Regions from separate parts of the Homo sapiens genome. Here region 2 is linked to region 1. Evidence: promoter capture Hi-C in 16 types of primary human blood cells and fetal thymus (Javierre and others, 2016). All regions are on one chromosome and are shown on one strand. Each heading gives the region's core, a stretch centred on a gene start or on the middle of the fragment in contact. The rest is flanking DNA. Distances are from core to core; before and after follow the strand shown.

What was found. The method cuts DNA at HindIII sites, captures the fragments that hold promoters and counts their contacts. A CHiCAGO score of 5 or more calls a contact.
Region 2: a fragment that was not itself captured here is called in contact with the fragment with the promoter of H3C4 in region 1 in 2 of 17 cell types (naive B cells and total CD8 T cells); the score reaches 7.0 in naive B cells.

The regions. Positions count from the first base shown.
Region 1 is chr6:26,193,729-26,198,898 of GRCh38, forward strand. It overlaps H3C4 (H3 clustered histone 4), which reads right to left and starts at 3,558. Exons shown (of 1, transcript NM_001376937.1): 1 at 3,056-3,558. The coding sequence starts at 3,522. The coding sequence ends at 3,112. It overlaps H2AC7 (H2A clustered histone 7), which reads right to left. Exons shown (of 1, transcript NM_021065.3): 1 at 5,056-5,170. The coding sequence ends at 5,123. It also overlaps the pseudogene H1-12P. RefSeq lists enhancers at 2,685-3,286, 2,799-2,908, 3,287-3,887, 4,630-4,689, 4,720-4,779 and 4 more. The HindIII fragment of the contact is 2,796 bases long and covers 2,930-5,170 here.
Region 2 is chr6:27,179,236-27,184,405 of GRCh38, forward strand. No RefSeq gene overlaps it. Among named protein-coding and RNA genes, the nearest start is that of TRI-AAT5-2, 4.5 kb to the left of the region's middle. The HindIII fragment of the contact is 7,682 bases long and covers 1-5,170 here.

The sequences.
Region 1 (5,170 bases), core at 2,308-4,807:
ATGTCACTTGAAAGGTTGCTTCCTAGATGTGGTTGGATATGTTGAGGGTGTGATATACGTAAACAATGAAGCCAATATCCAGCAATCTTAGACAGAAGCTACTTAGATAAGGATGGTCATACTGAGAGTCTGGTATAGAAGATGAACAAGCAGATATCCAGCAACCATCCAGAAATCCAACTTTGATACTTAGGCAAGAGGACAGGCCTGAAGGGAGAGACTTTAGTTACCTGTAAGAAACTAACTCACAAACCCATGAAGGCAAATAGGACAGTACCTCAGAGAATTCCTGCAGTTGGAAGGCTACAAGTCAGTTCTTCCTTTGTTGGTGCTCCAGGAAATCAAATATAAGTATAAAATATAAATATAAAATGGGTCAAAGCCATTTTAAGATTAGAAATACATGGGCTCCATAAAAAGTGAATACACACTCAAAGTAAATGTGATTCATATTTAGCTCATGTCTCATCTCAAACATTTGATTTTAATTTTTATTAACATTTATTAATTTGTTCATGTCCTAGTTTAATTTGCTACATGAAGTCATTTGTATTTTGATGAGATCAAAAAGTGTGAAACCCTCACCTTTTGGGCTTTACTCTGTCTGTTCCCAGCATTTATCTCCTTCATAGTCTTAGTAAAACAGAAATGTATATGCTCCCCAGATCAGCATACGTTCAAGACATTGAGGAGTGAAGAAAATCAGTTAATTCACTTTCTGCCATCACTCCATTTTCTTCTCATATCGAACATAAGCTGTACTTCATCACTATAAGCCTATATCCTTGTTTAAACAAGAAATGTAGTACTGAATATGAAACATGGCTGTTTTTTAAATTTCTCTCTCTAGGGAATTTTGTGTGTGTGTGGTGCTTGTGTGTATATTCTTTGATCCTGGTACTTGAATAGTTTACCAAAGTCTATTTTCCCCGTGTCACCAAGCATGACAGACCCCTGAACCCAAAGACTCATGAATATTTTAATAACAAATTTCCCCCAGTAAAAATTTAAAAAAAAAATTTTTTTTTGACCCTTAAATGAGTCAAACTCTGTCTCTTTTATGTCCTTTCGTGGATCTCTCCTGAGTTCAGCTATGCAAACAGTCCCAATATCAGGAGAATCAGTGATCATTGTATTTCCCATTTTCCCAAGGAAACGTTGAACATTTACTGGAACCCTCCCAAAGTAACTAAACGTCCAAATAGTTACAAGAAGCTATCATGAAATATTTTCAGCCCCAGCTAATTTTATCAGAAAGGGCTGTTGTTCTAAGTATCCGTACTGCTGTTCTTGTGGAGAAATTCAAAAAGAACCTGTTGTTTCTCTTCTCATATAAAACAGATTTCCTCGTTAAATCTCAATGAAAATCAAGTAGTTGTTCAATGTATGAGAAGCCAAAAATGTGTAGGCTATTATTAGAAGACAGCAAACAATTGAAGACACGAATGGAAGAATTTATATTTTAAATGAAAATCAAGAAGTTGTCCCTCTGAACTGTGAATCTCTGAAAGTTGGAACTTTTGATAAAGGCCGAGGCTGCCTTAAGTAAAAACTAGAGAAAGAAAATGTAAAGATCATAACACCGTAGCCGTTCCAGTTCATTGTAGAATAGAATTGGTGTGATTCCTCCTCAGGAAATTTAAACTATTTTGATTTTCTGAATTTCCGCAAACACAACTCAGAAACAGGGTTGAGACTAGGTTGCTGCCAAGCTGAAAGACTGAGCTGGGAACCAATCAGCGCGCAGCGTGTCTGTGTGTGACACACACGTAATCACAGACACACTCGCAGCCTGACTTTTTTTTTTTTTAACTGTTAGATATCCAAACCTACAATCATGTCCGAAACTGTACATGCCGTGACTCCTGGTCTATCTCCCAAGTCAAAGACTGAAGTAAAGAAAAAGGTTGCAAGTCCGAAGTTGCAGTGAAGTGCAAGATGTCCAGGCCCCTCCGGTATGTGAGTTCATCACTAATGACTTAGCCGTCTCCAAGAAGCGCAGCGGCCTTCTCTGTGGCCGCGCTCAAGTAGGTGTTGGCGGCTACGATATGAAGATCGGCCCTTGCCGGTCGCGGTGGCCTACGTTTGTAATCTCAGCATTTTGTGAGGCCAAGGCGGGAGAATCTCTTAAGCTAAGGAGTTGTTTTTGGTGGTTTTGTTTGTCCTTGGGGATTTTTTTTTTTTTTTTGAAGGAGTCTAGCTCTGCTGCCCAGGCTGGAGTGCAGTGGTGTGATCTCGGTTCACTGCAACTTCCGCCTCCCGGGTTCAAGCCCTTCTCCTGCCTCAGCTTTCCATGTAGCTGGGACTGCAGGCGTGTGCCACCACACCCGGCTAATTTTTGTATTCTCAGTAGAGACGAAGTTTCAATGTGTTGGGCAGGCTGGTCTCGAACTCTTGGCATCACGTGATCCGCCCGCCTTGGCATCCTAAAGTGCTGTGATTACAGGCCTGAGCCACCTCGCCTGGCCAAGCTAAGGAGTTTTGAGGCCAGCCTGGGTAACACAGTGAGACCTCGTCCCTAAAAATAAATACAAATTTTTAAAAATTATTTGAATAAAGTTGGGCCTTGAAAACAAACGAGGGCATCTTCGTGCTAAGGAGTGCAGCGCCTCAGGTTCATTCCCGCCAAACCAGGCAGTGTTAGGAAAATCAAGACCGAGGCCAGAAAAGCCGCTGCAGTCATGCCCAAGACAGCTGTCCTGGCAGCCGAGAGGCCCAAGAAAGCTTGGGGCGTCCTTATTCCGAAAAAGAGTACTAAGCGGACCCCAAAAGCTTTTGCTGGTGGAGGCTGCTGGAGAAGGTTGGTTGGTCAAAGGTGGCCAAGAAAGTTCCCAAGCCGGAGGCATCCAAGCCTAAGAAAGCGGCCCCCAAAACAAGGAGATATAAGAGTACCTTAAAGGCTGTTTTAAGAACTCCCCAATTATAATAAAGCTTTTTGCACCAATTCCGTGAGGGGAGGGGGAACGGATAGAGGCAAGAATGCTTACTTACCTTGAGTGAACAGAGGTTCCAGTTTACGGACAGCAACAGTAAACAGCAACTTTTATAGAAAAGGTGGTTGGCTCTGAAAAGAGCCTTTGGGTTTTGGTTAGCACACATTCACAAGACAATTTACGCCCTCTCCCCACGAATGCGGCGAGCAAGCTGGATGTCCTTGGGCATGATAGTCACTCGCTTGGCGTGAATGGCGCATAGGTTGGTGTCCTCAAACAGCCCCACCAGGTAGGCCTCGCAGGCCTCCTGCAGCGCCATCACCGCCGAGCTCTGAAAACGCAGATCAGTCTTGAAGTCCTGCGCGATCTCACGGACTAGACGCTGGAATGGCAGTTTGCGAATCAGCAGCTCGGTCGACTTCTGGTAGCGGCGGATCTCGCGCAGAGCCACCGTGCCGGGCCGGTAACGGTGGGGCTTCTTCACGCCGCCGGTGGCTGGAGCGCTCTTTCGAGCAGCCTTGGTGGCCAGCTGCTTGCGTGGCGCTTTCCCACCCGTGGACTTGCGAGCAGTCTGCTTGGTACGAGCCATTGCGAACTTCTAAACCCTGCTAAATGACGAAAAAACGAAAGTCTAGCCTTTCGTACCCGTATATATAAAGACACCCCTGTTCTGATTGGACAAGGCAGCCTTTCCCCTGCAGCTCGATTGGTGGAGACGCCCACTCCCTGACAGAACATCTCCTGCATGTAGACCAAATATTAAAACTTTCCTCCGTCCATCTTTAACTGCTGGTGTTTTCAACCCTTTCCCCTCTGTGCCATGTTTCTAGCTTTTATTTAAAACGTACTTTGGTTTTCCTTGGCAAAATTGTGTCTAGCTACTAGGATGACGTGTCTTAATTTTTTTTTAAATGTTGGCGCTGAAACTGGCTTTGATCAACGTTTTAAAAAGACGCGCGCTAGTTGTGATTGGCCAAGTGATTTCTTTTTACCCTCTTAAGTTTAGAAAGGTTAATTTCATATCTTGATTTGTCTATTTAAACTTGGAGATATTTTCAATAATTTGTTCCAAATGCACCATGACTATTAACTCATAAGTAACAATATGAAACCTGATGTTAAGCTACATGAACACATTTAATTTCACCACAATATGTCATCCTCATATGAAAGCACTCTTATCTTTTACAAGTTCAACTGGTATTTGTGTAATCTGCTGTAAAAAAAAAAAAAAAAAAAAGCCAAATTTATAAATGGCACAAAAAGACCAGTGTGCCCTTTTAGTCATGCTGAACACTGTGCTAAGAAGCTCCACCTAAGGGCCGTCTGGCTCCAGGGGATGTAGGTTTGTATTCCTATTGATAATTAATTAGGGTTAGCTCAGTAGAGTTGAAAGTGGCTTGCAAAAACAAACCCAAAAAATACTTACAAATTACAGGTTATTTCGTATCATTAAGATGCATACAAAAGACAATAAAACATTTGTTCTGGTTCTGTTGCTTTAAGTCACTAACTATATTTTTATGTAAATGTAAACACTGACAAACATTAACTTCTCTCCTGTATGTCTCAGGCCTTTTAACAGCTTTGCAATCCTAACGAGCCGCTGCATTGATCGATTTAAATTACATGTGACATAAAGTCTCTTTGCATTTTAATTAGTTTGCTTTTTTGGGTTTTTGTTTGTTTTGAGACAGTCTCGCTCTGTCGCCGAAACTGGAGTGCAGTGGCGCGATCTCGACTCACTGCAACCTCCGCCTCCGGGGTTCAACATTTTCTCCTGCCTCAACCTCTTAAATAGCTGAAATTACAGGCGCGCGCCACCACGCCCGACAAATTTTTTTATTTTTAGTAAAGACGGGGCTTCACACCATGTTGGTCAGGCTGTCCTGGAACTCCTGACCCTGTGATCCGCCCACCTTGGCCTTCCAAAGTCCTGGGATTACAGGCGTAAGGAACCGCGCCCCGCCAATTTGCTTATGTATTTTTATGGCATCTTTAAAATGGACGGTTAGTTTCACGATTCAGTGTTAAGAACACCCACTTATAAATGGAAAAATTATTAAAGAAAACTGCAAAATAGCTATTTACACAGAAAATGTGAGCCCTTTTAAGGAATACATGGGTGGCTCTGAAAAGAGCCTTTGTTAAGACTGCTTCCTTAAAAAGCCAATATAAGAGTTCTCGTTTTACTTGCCCTTGGCCTTGTGGTGACTCTCAGTCTTCTTGGGGAGCAG
Region 2 (5,170 bases), core at 1,170-3,669, 980 kb after region 1:
TATATATTAAGCCTCACCAACCTCCAGGATGGGAAATAACCCCAAGTAAGACAGAGACTCTAAAAGGCCAAGCAGACAATAAAATTTCCCTCACAGTCCCCTAGGCCTAATGTTAAAATACTGGAAGGATAATGAAAGGACCAAACACAAGAAAAGACAGCAAATGATAAAGTACTGCTGTTTTATTTGGACTAAGGAACCCATCCTCAGACCTTCGGTCTTTTGGCCAAAGTTTGGGTGGGACGAGGACTGGATATGCCAACTCCTGATCCAGTATGTCAATGATAAAAGCCCAGTTTCTCAAGAGGAGATAGATTATGCTCTATGTTGGAGACAAGGACCTGTCCTTCTCTATCCCTTAAAGGACGAAAAAGCAAAGCCAAACTCAAAACCCCCCAAAGACGACCTAGCTAAGTCATATTCTATATCCAAAGATGCACGGGATCCTCTAGACCACCTTCCCCTGCCTACCTCTCCGCCCCGACTGAACAACAGCCCTTCCCGCACCTACCCCTCTGCCCCAAGCTAAAACTCCGTCCCTCCCCCATATAACCCTGCCCCATGGGCCTTGACACCACACACCCCCGTTGGACAGCCACTCGAACATGCCCCTCCCTTAGGAAAGCTCCAGTGGCAAATAGAACAATGCCAAAGGGATATTCAAAACTTTCCTTTCCTCTCTTCAAAGAAGTCTGCCCCAACCTTTTTTCCCTTGAGGGAAGTACCACTAGGAGGAGGGGATATTGGCTTCGTAAATGCCCCCCTTAGCTAGTGAAGAAGTTAGAAATCTAAAAAGGAGACTCAAACCACTGTTAGATGACCCTTTTGGAGTCTCAGATCAAATTGACCAATTTATGGGGCCACAACTGTATACCTGGGCTGAATTGATGTCTATTCTAGGTATTCTCTTCTTAGGAGAGGAAAGAACCATGATCTGCAAGGCTGCTATGATAGCCTGGGAGCGCAAGCACCCCCCTCGTCAGAATGTCCTTGCAGCAGAGCATAAATTCCCGGCCCAGGACCCTCAATGGGATAACAACAGTGCGGCTCACCGGGAAAACATGAGAGATAGGGATATGATAATTAAAGGGATTCAGGAATCAGTTCCTCCAACCCAAAACATTTCCCAAGCATTTAATGTACAGCAAGAGAAAGATGAAGGGCCCATGGAATTCTTAAACAGACTTAAGGAACAGATAAGAAAATACGCAGGTTTGGACATAGAGGACCCACTAGGACAAAGGATGTTAAAGCTCCACTTTGTCACCAATAGTTGGCCAGACACTATAAAGAAATTATAAAAGATAGAAAATTAGAAAGACTGTCCCATAGAGGAACTTTAAAGAGAGGTCCAAAAGGTATATGTACGGAGGGATGAGGAAAGGCAGAAGCAAAAGGCAAAAATTATGCTGTCCACCCTACAACAGGGAACTTTTCAACAGGCATCCCAGGGAAATAGAACTTGTAAACCTTCTGAGTACCAGGCTGCCAGACCCTATACAGGAAGCAAAGGGACGAAACCTGAGAATCAGGGAACCAGGAGGGGGAGAAGGAAAAACAGATGTTTCAGATGTGGAAAGCCAGGACATTTTAAGAGGAAATGTCCCGAATGGGAGAGGGAAAAGAAAGTCCTTTCACTCATGACATTTGAAGAACAGTGGGCTCAGGGGCTCTACGTCTTCCATCTTGAGTCCCACCAAGAGCCCTTGATAAATTTAACGGTGGGACCCAAATTGGAAATAGTCACTTTCCTGGTCAATTCGGGAGCAGCTGGCTCCTGCCTATGTTTTCTCCCATCAGATTTATCCTGTTCAGCCGAAGACCTTACTGTCTCAGGAGTTAAAGGGGAAGGATTCAGAGCAAAAATTCTAGAGGAAACCGAAGTCAAATATAAGAATAAGTCGGTTGCTACTAAGTTCTTCTTAATTCCTGAAGCAGGAACTAATTTATTAGGAAGGGACTTAATGTTAAGGTTAGGCACAGGCCTATATGTTAATCAAGGAAAACTCCTTACTTCCTTAAACGTACTCACCACTTCAGAAGAAAGCCGCATCCATCCCAACGTATGGTCGAAAGAAGGGAATCGAGGATGGGTTCCTCCAATCCATGTCAAATTAAAAACTCCTGGGGAAATAGTGAAACAAAAACAATACCCTATTCCCTTGGAAGCCAGGATAGGTTTATAACCTATAATTGAAAGCCTTGTCCACGAAAACAATACCCTATTCCCTTGGAAGCCAGGATAGGTTTAAAACCAGGATAGTTTTAAAACCTGTAATTGAAAGACTTGAACCCTGTATGTCCCCTTATAACACTCCAATATTGCCTGTAAGGAAGTCAGACGGGTCATACCAGCTAGTGCAAGACCTCTGGGCTATTTACCAAATAGTTCAGACCATCCACCCTGTTGTTCCCAATCCTTACACCATTTTCAGTAGAATCCCGCATAACCACCAATGGTTCACGGTGACAGATTTAAATGATGCCTTTTGGGCTTGCCCTTTAGCAGAGGACAGCTGGGACAAATTTGCCTTTGAGTGAGAGGACCCTCACTCCGGTCGATGGACAGTCTTGCCCCAAGGTTTACAGAGTCCCCAAATCTATTTGGTCATATTTTAGAGCAAGTCCTAGAAAACTTCTCCCTGCCTTCATCCATATGCCTACTCAAATACGTAGATGTCCTGCTCATTTCAGGAGATAACAAGGATCAAGTAACAGCAATTTCAGTTAACTTCCTAAATTTCCTAAGGGGACAAGGATTACGGGTCTCAAAGAACAACATCCAATTCATAGAATCTGAGGTAAAATATCTAGGACACCTAATCAGTAAAGGTGAACGAAAGATAGGATCCGAACGAATTGAAGGTATCCTGTCTTTGCCTTTACCTGAAACAAAGCAGGAACTTAGGAAATTATTAGGATTGGTTGGATATTGTCATCTGTGGACTGACTCTTATGCCTTAAAAACAAAGCCCCTATATCAAAAACTCACTCAAGAAGGACCAGACCCCCTCCTTTGGACCCCATCAGAGATCCAACGGTAAAAGAATTAAAACACCTACTTGTAACTGCCCCTGTTCTAACTTTGCCCTCCTTAGAACAGCCATTCCATCTTTTCATTAATGTAAGCAAAGGAGTGGCCTTAGGGGTACTCACCCAAAAACATGGAGGCCACCGGCAGCCTGTAGTCTTTCTGTCAAAAATCCTTGACCCAGTAACCCGTGGATGGCCCGAATGTGTTCAATCCATAGCAGCAACTGCCTTGCTAACAGAAGAAAGCAGGAAAATAACCTTTGGGGGAAACCTCTTCGTAAGTGCCCCTCATCAAGTCAGAACCATTCTTAATCAGAAGGCAGGGAGATGGCTCACTGACTCAAGGATTTTAAAATATGAAGCTATCTTATTAGAGGGAGATAACCTAACACTAACCACTGACAATTCACTCAACCCCGCTGCTTTCCTAACAGGAAATCCAAACCAGGAGGAATGTGAGCATAACTGCTTAGATCTAATCAGTTTTCAAACTAGAGTCAGACCGCATCCAGGCATGAAACCCCCTTCCAAACAGGGCATCACCTCTTTATAGACGGCTCCTCCCAGGTCATTGAAGGAAAAAGGCACAACGGGTACTCCATAGTTGATAGGGAAACCCTCACAGTGGTAGAGTCAGAAAGACTGCCAAATAAGTGGTCTGCCCAAATATGTGAACTCTTTGCATTAAACCAAGCCTTAAAATCCCTGCAGAATCAGGAAGGAACTATTTACACTTACTCCAAGTATGCCTTCGGAAAAGATCTGGACTGAACGAGGCCTCATCAATAGTAAGGGCCAAGATTTGGCCCACAAGGAATTAATTATGCAAGTGCTAGAAAATCTTCAGCTGCCGGAAGAGATTGCAGTTGTCCATGTCCCAGGACACCAAAATAACCCATCTTTTGAAAGCCGGGAAATAACCTCACAGATTAAGTAGCTAAGCAAGCTAGCAAGCTGCCTATTCCCAAGAGGCACCCATTTTCCATCTAACCCCTTGTCTTCCCCCTCCAGCTGTGATCTCCATCTTCTCCCACACAGACCAAGAGAAACTCAAGAAAATAGGAGCTAAGGAAAGCCCAGAGGGGAAGTGGGTGTGGACAGATGGAAGGGAAATGCTGTCTAAACCCCTCATGAGGGAAATATTGTCACAGCTTCACCAAGGAACTCACTGGGGTCCTCAAGCTATGTGCGATGCAGTCCTTAGAGTCTATGGGTGTGTAGGGATATATACCTTCACTAGGCAAGTGGCGGATGGTGCAGAAAAACTAATAAGCAAACCCTAAAGAGGCAACCTCCCGGGGGAAGAAACCCAGGGTTGAGGCCGTTCCAAAGCATCCAAGTTGACTACACTGAAACGCCCCCAATAGGCCGTCTTAAGTATTTAGTAGTAATAGTAGACCATCTCACCCACTGGAGAGAGGCCATCCCCTTCCCAAGCACAACAGCTAGTAATGCAGTCAAAGCCCTTTTGGAACATATCATATGCAGGTTTGGACTAACAGAGAACGTTCATCTGGAAAATGGGACCCACTTCATTGCACACATCATTAAGGGGCTAACCCAAGTACTAGGAATAAAATGGGAATATCATACTCCCTGGCACCCGCCCTCATCAGGGAGGGTAGAAAGAATGAATCAAACTCTAAAAAAATCTCCTAACCAAATTAATCTTTGAAACCTGGTTACCATGGACAAAATGCCTTCCCATTGTCTTACATTGCCCTCGAATTCCCAGTTAACCAACACCAGCCTCATCAAAAGTTGGAAAGAGGGAAAGCTCGAACCAACATGGGAGGGACCTTATCTAGTACTCCTAACCACCGAAACAGCAATCTGAATGGCCGAAAAAGGATGGACCCACCACACTTGAGTGAAAAAGGCCCCATCCCTTGCAAAGTCATGGACTGTCGACAGCCCCCAAACTAACATTCAAAAGGGTTTAATCTGTCTTTTTCTTCTTTCTTTAGCTACCCAAGGATATCTTATCATCAGTATAACCCAGTCACCCTCCCCCAAAACAATTACATTTGATGCCTGTCTTGTCATGCCCTGCAGGGATGTCCAAAGTGAAAGACAGCTAGCCTCTTCAGAAAAGTAACTTTGTCCCTCTAAGATAGACTGTACTGCCTACAAAACT